Regions from separate parts of the Homo sapiens genome. Here all the other regions are linked to region 2. The links are contacts of gene promoters, found by promoter capture Hi-C in blood cells and fetal thymus (Javierre and others, 2016). All regions are on one chromosome and are shown on one strand. Each heading gives the region's core, a stretch centred on a gene start or on the middle of the fragment in contact. The rest is flanking DNA. Distances are from core to core; before and after follow the strand shown.

Region 1 (2,700 bases), core at 135-2,634, 220 kb before region 2:
CAGGGCCAGTGAAGTGCTTCCTTCCCAGGACTCTCGCTCTTGGATTTCCACGATGCCATCCCTGCCTCCTTCTTGATGTGGATTCCCATAATGCTAACCTGAGCTAGACCCCTAGTTCTCCATATCCAACCCATCTCCATGGCCAGGCCTCTCTTTCACGGTCAAGTCAAGATAGCAAATGCCTTGTGGTCCCCACCAAGCTTGATTGGTAAAGGCCTCTGCTAATATCAGGGTTTCCATTTGGTTTTACCTTAGAAGAAGAGCTGTGGTTGGGGGCATAGTAAGTTGCCACACTGCTGACTTGTGGAAGGCCCAACTATCTCTCTACTCTGAGTAGCTCTAAAGCATCCTGGTCAACTTGTCTTCCCAATACGTTTTTCTCATCAGCTGAGGAAAAGGAAGGGTGTGCTACGGATGGATGCTTTGGAAGATGGTATGAAACACTTTCACACTGGTTGTGTTTCATTATTTACTTCAGATTGGTTGTCTGGTTTAATCATTTCATTTCCACTGATGACAGAAAATTTAATTTTGCTATCAAGACAATTTTGGCTAGGCACGGTGGCTCATGACTGTAATCCCAGTGATTTGGGAGGCCGAGGCAAGAGGATTACTTGAGGCCAGGAGTTTGAGACCAGCCTGTCAACATAGCAAGACCTCATCTCTACCAAAATAAAAAATAAAAAAATTAGCCAGGCATGGTGGCCCATAGCTACTCGGGAGGTTAAGTGAGGATCACTTGAGCTCAAGTGTTTGAGGCTTCAGTGAGCTATGATGGCACCACTGCACTCCAGCCTGAGTGACAGAGCAAGATCCTGTCTGATATGGTTTGGCTCTGTGCCCTCACCCAAATCTTATCTCAAATTGTAATCCCCTTGTGTCAGGGAGGGATGTGGTGGGAGGTGATTGGATCATGGGGGCGGTTTCCCCAGGCTGTTCTCATCATTGTGAGTGAGCTCTCATGAGATCTGATGGTTTAAAAGTGTTGTACTTCCCCCCATAAATTACCCAGTCTCAGGTAGTATCTTTATAGCAGTGTGAGAATGAACTAAGACATTGTCTCAAATAAGTAACAAATAAACAAATAAGTAAATGACCATTTTACCCCTTCTATTTTAATACAGAGACAAATATCATTCTGTCTCTTGCCCTTCCATTTCCCCGGGTGCCCACAGAGTGTCCTGGTACTGAGAGAGAGAGAAGCGGGTCTTGGTGTGGCCCCATCTTGGTGGGTCCCACGGAAGGGTCTAGTCCTGGTGGTCTTAGGCAACAGGCAGTGTGCAGGCTGCACCTACACCCAGACATAGTCTGCCTCCCACCACCTCCAAACCCAGATCACAGGGCCCTTCTGGCTGGTCCATCATCAACCAATCTCCATGCCCCTTGGGAGTAGTTTCCAAGTCTCTTGGGATATTTGTTCCCTTGCATTTTTGGAGACTAGGGGAAGGGGAGGAGGGTTGTTGCCTATCTCAGGCCTCTCTCACCTTTGCTATTTATATATACATACACATATATATACACACACACACATATATATACATATATACATATATATACACATATATACACATATATATACACATATATATACACACACATACATATATATATAATTTGATTTTTTTCAACTAGCATGCACTTAAATTTTTTTAAAAAATATTTTGAAAATTTTTGGGGGTACCTAGTAGATGTATATATTAACATGCACTTTTTGTATTTTTTATTGTGGTAAACTATATATAGCATTAAGTTGATCATCTTAACCGCTTGTAAGGGTACAGTTGGTGGCATTACAGTTACATTCACAATGTTGTGCAACCATCACCAGTATTTCCAAACCTTCTTCACCAGGCCACCAGAAACTCGAGACCCATTAAATAGCCCCTTTCACCTTCCCCCAGCCCCAGGTAACCTCCAGACTGCTTTCTCTCTCTGTGAATTTGATGACTCTAGGCACCTCGTATCATGTGAAACTACACAGCATTGGTCCTTTTGTCACCAGCTTATTTCACTTACCACAATGGCCTCGAGGTTCATCCATGTTGTAGCAGGTGTCAGAACTCTCCCAAAAGATTGCAAAAACCATAATCTCACACAAAGGTCATCACAACCTTACACAAAAAAAATACTTCTGGGAGGACATCTGCCCAGCAACAGCCTGTCCAATCTCGAATTGGCATCATTCTTATTATTGGTCCTTGTAGCCAAGGATAATTATCTCAAAATTTTGAGATAGTTATTTTATATCAAAATAAAATACGCATGCCATTAATAAGCTATGTTCATATTTGGGGAGGTAAGGGAAAATAATAATAAAATTTAAATTAGAAATTAAAAATACTAATAATAAAAGAAAGAAATGATTTTCCCTTACCTCCCTGAATATGAACATAGCTTATTACGGCATGCGTATTACCTTGCAATTTCCTAATCCTTAAGTAAAAATTATTTTTTTTAGAGAGCCTCTCTTTGTTTGTTAAACTGTGGGCTGACAATAGAATCGCACACACACAGAGTCCCTGATTTAGGCTAAGAGGGGACAGGACCCACGGAGGAGCTGAAGCTTTTATGTAGTCTTGAACTCATTGTCTTCTGGGACAGTGCTGCTCAAGGTGCCAGTCCAGAAAGGAGCTTGTGCCAGAATGTAATCAACGCAGCTTCCTTCCTCAGGAAAGTCTTGTCCCCTCTCCCCCACAAAAA
Region 2 (2,700 bases), core at 16-2,515:
GGAAGTCACGATGTCGTGGAGGAGAGGGGAGCTGGGAGCCTGAAGCTGACAGATCCCGGGATCCCGCAGGCCCCCCGCAGGGCTCCCGCCCTTCCACCGAGGCACCCGTCGAGGTTGCCCCAGATGCTCATTCTGCGCCCATCAATGGGAGTAACTGAGCTTAGAGAGGAAAAACTACGGCTTCAACAAAGCACAACGTGTGCAGCTCTGATAATGCAGGGCGGAATTATGGAGACACCGTCGGGGCTGGCTGGAAAGCGGAAAGCGTTCCATCTCAGGATTTTCACGGGGAATTTCAAGAACCAAGGGGGCCTCTGAGATCCCCAGAACCTCTCCTTTCCACGAGGCAGCTTCCTTCCTTCCCTGCTCGTTCTCCACAAAAATCAGGGCTGCCCGGATCCCAGCAGTGAGCGCTGCTCTCTTTGGCTGCTGTATCCCCAACCGCTGCTGAGGCGCAGCTGGAGTGAGCCCCTCCGAGCCCCGCTTTGCGCAGCTGCAGCTGGAGCCCAGAGGCGCCCGGAGCTCGGAGAAAAGCACTGTGCTCCGCGGGACCCAACCCTCCCCACGGCCACCAAGGGGGCCCGCAGATCCCCGGGCACCGGCAGCCGAACCCAGACAGGGGCGTCCCAACCGCTGAGCCCGACGCCAGAGGGCACCGCGGGGGAGAGAAGGCGCCGCGCCTCGCTCCTGGCACTTGGTCCCCGGGAGTCAGGGACATGCGCGCCCCGGAGCTGGAGCCCGGGAAAATTACTGCGCGGGCACAGAGGAGCTAGAGAGGTCCCCGACCCTCCCAGCCCCGCGCCCAGGTACCTCGCAGCCGTAGAGCTGACCCAGCTGCTCCACGATCCATTCCTCCAGCACCAGCCGCTTCCGAAGCTCCTTACGATCGTATTTCACTGTCACTTTTCCCTGCTGGTGTCGCCGCTGCTGTTGCTGCTGAACCTGCCCTGCAGCGGCCGCCGTGGCCACGGGCGCCGAGTCCTCCCGGGAGGAGCCTGAGCCGCTGCTGGAGCCGGGGCTGCCACCGGCGCCACCCCGGGGGCTTTGGAAGAAAACCCGTGCGCCGCCGCCGCTGGCCCCGCCGGCCGTCTCGCTGCTGCCCGTCGCCACCGACATGTCCCCGCGCGCCCGAGCCTCAGTGCGGCCCGGAGGAGGGGCGGGCGGAGCGCGCCCGGCGCCGCTACCACCTCCGGCCCGGCAGCCGCATGCGAAGGGCTCCCCGGCACCTGCTCTGCGCCGCGCGCGCCCAGCCGCCCGGCTGCTCTGGGAGGGCGGGAGGAGCCGCGGCGAGAGGGAGGAGGGCGGGGAGGACGACGGGGCGGGGACCGCAGCCTTAAAGAAGCCGCCGAGGACCCTCTCGGTCCAGCCCCCAGAGGCGGGATCTGGCGCCTGCGGCAGAGAGGGCCCGGGGCGTGGGAGTCTCCGCGGGGCGGGAAATGTGTGCGCCTAGACACGGGAGGTCGCCGATGTGTAGACTCCGGAAGGACGGGCGTGGGGCGGGGTGCCAGGGGATGCTCCTGCGCGGGTGTCCGTGGCCTCTAGTCTCGGAGACAGGGACTCACGCTTCTCCCGCAATCCCGGAGCGCAGGAAACGCGCCGCCTCTCGGGGCCTCCACCTGGCGCGGCCCCGGGCAGGACCCGCAGCGAAGGGGACACAGGAAAGGACCGCGCCGCAGGCTCCCCCAGGAGGTTTTCCTAGCCCCACCGTCTCCTCTGTTGGCTGGGTAGCGTCCCCTCCCCTCCAGCCCCGCCCCACGGCTCCAAACACACATTCCTATTCATGCCACGATGGATGCCACTTCCTCTCTGGATTGTGAGAAACATCGAAGAGGCGATGTTTGTGCAATAAGGCAGTCACGGCGCTTGAGAAATTATTTCCAGACCAATGTTTTCTTTCCTTACTAAGCGTCTGCTTAATCATGGGCACAGCATTCGGATATCTTCGTATCCAAAGGGCAGAAAGCGTGACGGCGCTCAGGCAAGGCGTCTGGGGGCATCCAGACAGTAAACATTTCTCTAAGAGGGTCGGCGACAGGGTCCTGGTTTCACATTTCTAGTGTTGCGTCCCGTGCACTGCCAGCTTTCTCTCCATCCCATTCCAAACAGCCCCTTCCACCCAGGAGGGCAACAGCACTGCCTGACTCTACTGCAAAACATCACAGCCTAGTAGTTACACATGAAGGAGCTTCTCAGAAGGGTTAGGACAATAAGGTGGGGAGGGAAGTTGTAAACAGAAAACTGCATGTGTAAAATTAGGGAGACACTAACATATTCTTCTTGTACACAACAATACATTCCTGTTCAGGAACTGATAGAAACCACAGAGACGTCCGAATGAATACAAGTAAGCGGCTTTTAGTAACGGTTTTGTTTTGTTTTGTTTTTTGAGACGGAGTCTCTCTGTTGCCCAGGCTGGGGAGCAGTGGCGAGATCTCGGCTCACTGCAACCTCTGACTTCGGGGTTCAAGCGATTCTCCTGCCTCACCCTCCTGAAGAGCTGGGATTACAGGCTTTCGCCACCACACCAAGCTAATTTTTGTATTTTTAGTAGAGACAGGGTTTCACCATGTTGGTCATTCTGGTCTCGAACTCCTGACCTCATGATCCGCCCGCCTGGGCCTCCCAAAGTGCTGGGATTACAGGTGTGAGCCACCGCGCCTGGCCATGAACTTTTTTTGTTTGTTTGTTGTTGTTGTTGTT
Region 3 (2,700 bases), core at 38-2,537, 250 kb before region 2:
ATTTTCTGTAGCTCTGATTTTTTTTCCTCAGTGGAAATATTAATTTACATTAAAAATGGGTTTTTTCTTGCTTTGTTTTACTGTGCAAATTTACATAAGTAAACTTTGCTAGTTAATGAGAATACTGTACTACAGCATCATGGTGTGTAATATAAGAAATTTGCTTCCAAAAAAAACAAATATAACTGTGAGTATGCGAGTGTGTGTATGTCTGGTGTGTTTTAAGGAGAGGGAAAGAAAGAAGGTGTATCTCCTCCAATATATTAATATAATGATGTGATCAGAAATCTTGGTTTTTAATTAAAAGATCATGAACTGAATAATTTCAGAAGTTTTGAACTATTGTCACATCTTCTTCCAAGAAGCTTGTAATAGTCAAAATGTGGAAAGTAGAAGTCATTGTGTTTCTGGCACTCACTCAGCATTTGGGTAAGACTTTATAGATAAACATATCACTCTAGGCTTTATTCGCTATGTTTAAACTTTGACATTTTTCCATTGTTGGAGTCACACCAGTAAGGTGACTAACATTTCCAAAGACCCCATCTGCAATTACAAACCTGCCGTTCTGATGACATTATCAATGACTTCCATTGGGACTTGCTCATTACTTATGAACCTGACTGACCGTCTCTTATTGAGAAGTTCATAAAATTCCTGAGACCTCTTAACCATTTCCTTCTCAGGATAGTGGTTATGAGAGAAGGGGATGTGTTCAACATTTTCTTCTGATTCTTGCCATTCATCAGCATCTGCAAATAAGAATAAGAAAGGTAACAAACTAAATGATCCCTTGGTCATAAGGTGACCGCTGGGGAGAAGAAGATAAAGTGCTTAAATGTGTAAGGTTATGAACTCAAAAAAATACTATAAAATGAAAAAAGAATAGATTTACAGAATCCTTACCACTGATCTTGACTATCCTTAAAACTCCAGCTGGGTGCAATGGCTCACATGTGTATTCCCAGCTGCTCTGGAGACAGAGGTGAGAGGATCGCTTGAGCCCAGGAGTTCAAGGCTGCAGTGAGCTATCATCACACCACTGCACTCTAGCCTGGGCAATGGAGACAGACCCAGTCTCTTTTTAAAAAAAGGAAGAAAAGTCCGGGCGTGGTGGCTTACGCCTATAATCCCAGCATTTTGGGAGGCCAAGGCAGGCGGATCACTTGAGGTTGGGAGTTCGAGACCAGCCTGGTCAACATGGTGAAACCCCGTCTTTACTAAAAATACAAAAATTAGCCAGGTGTTGTGGTGCACACCTGTAATCCCAACTACTTGGGAGGCTGAGGCATGAGAATCGCTTGAACCTGGGAGGCAGAAGTTGCAGTGAGCCGAGATTGCACCACTGCACTCCAGCCTGGGTGACAGAGTGAGACTCCATCAAAAAAAAAAAAAAAAGAGAAAGGAAGGAAGGAAAGAAGAAAGAAAGAAAGAAAGAAAGAAAGAAAGAAAGAAAGAAAGAAAGAAAGAAAGCAAAAACTCCAGACTATAAATCTAGAAAAAGAAAAATTTTACCAAAAAAAGATGAGGAATTCACATTTCTGTTAATGATGGACTAGGTTATTTGAAACAATCTCCTGTCAGTTGAAAACCACTCAGATCTCTAAATAAAGTATTTTTCAAAGTCTTTTTTAAAATCGTTGAGCCTACAACATAGCAAGAAATTTGCAGGCCAAAGTGAAGAGAAAATATGAACTCACACAGGTAGATAAGTGCAGAAGGTACATTTTTTTCTCTACTGTATTTGCCAATCCCTACACATTTGAATTCCATTTTTATATCTTCAGGGATTAAGGGTGACAGATATCAAAGCCCAGGCCCACACAGAATGTGAAGTCTAATAAGCTAGGACCCCAAAACTACATCCTTAGGGGAAGTGTCAATCATAAGTAAATTATTCCTCAACGGTTTATATCAGTTTGATGAGTCTTGCCTCAAACTTGAACTTGGAATAAACTTGTCCTGCCTGAAAGTACCCCAGTTGTCTAGCAGAAGAAAATGCCAATATACAAATAATTTTAAGTACAATCATCAGCAACCCATCAAATGCAATCAGGCACATAAAGAAGAAAACATATTGGACAAGAAACAGCAGAATCAATTTTAAAAAAATAAAGTCAGATGCCCAAAGACTCCAAATACTGGAATTATCAGACCCAGAAGATAAAACAACTATGATTACTGTATTTAGAGAAAAAAGACAAGCTTATATAAATCTGTAGGGTACAGGAAAGAATAAAAGGAAAAAAATTAAAAAGAAGAAAAAATAAAAACAACAGCAAAAATAAAGAATAAAAGCTAATATAAACAATCTGAAAAAATAGAGAACTTCTGGAATTGAAAAATAATAGAATTAAGAACTTAAAAGGATGGTTGACTAGCAGGTTACACTAGCTACAGAAAAATTAATGAACTGGGAGGTAAGTCAGAAGAAAACACTTAGAATTGGGCAAGGAGAGACAAAAAGATAGAAAATATAGAGGAAAGGGCAAGAAAAAATAGAGCAGAGTGAAGAGTGAGAATGTCTAATATACATTTGATCATTTGATTCAAAGAGTATATGGTGGAGGCAATATTTGAAAAGATAGCATCTGAGATTTTTGCAGAACTCATGAAAAATACCAGATCTACAGATTCAAGAGGGCTGGTAAATTCTTTTTTTTTTTTTTTTTTTACAAGAACTTTTTTCTTTCTCTTCTT

What was found. Contacts are between HindIII fragments. The CHiCAGO score rates a contact against its expected background, and 5 or more counts as called.
Region 1: a contact is called between a fragment that was not itself captured here and the fragment with the promoter of PPP1R14C in region 2, in 1 of 17 cell types (endothelial precursors). The highest score is 5.5, in endothelial precursors.
Region 3: a contact is called between a fragment that was not itself captured here and the fragment with the promoter of PPP1R14C in region 2, in 1 of 17 cell types (endothelial precursors). The highest score is 5.0, in endothelial precursors.

Annotation. Positions count from the first base shown.
Region 1 is chr6:150,362,035-150,364,734 of GRCh38, reverse strand. No RefSeq gene overlaps it. Among named protein-coding and RNA genes, the nearest start is that of IYD, 5.6 kb to the left of the region's middle. The HindIII fragment of the contact is 2,363 bases long and covers 203-2,565 here.
Region 2 is chr6:150,141,609-150,144,308 of GRCh38, reverse strand. It overlaps PPP1R14C (protein phosphatase 1 regulatory inhibitor subunit 14C), which reads right to left and starts at 1,265. Exons shown (of 4, transcript NM_030949.3): 1 at 811-1,265. The coding sequence starts at 1,116. The HindIII fragment of the contact is 13,068 bases long and covers 1-2,700 here.
Region 3 is chr6:150,387,404-150,390,103 of GRCh38, reverse strand. IYD (iodotyrosine deiodinase) reads right to left here. Exons shown (of 5, transcript NM_203395.3): 2 at 561-752. Among named protein-coding and RNA genes, the nearest start is that of IYD, 20 kb to the right of the region's middle. The HindIII fragment of the contact is 1,840 bases long and covers 368-2,207 here.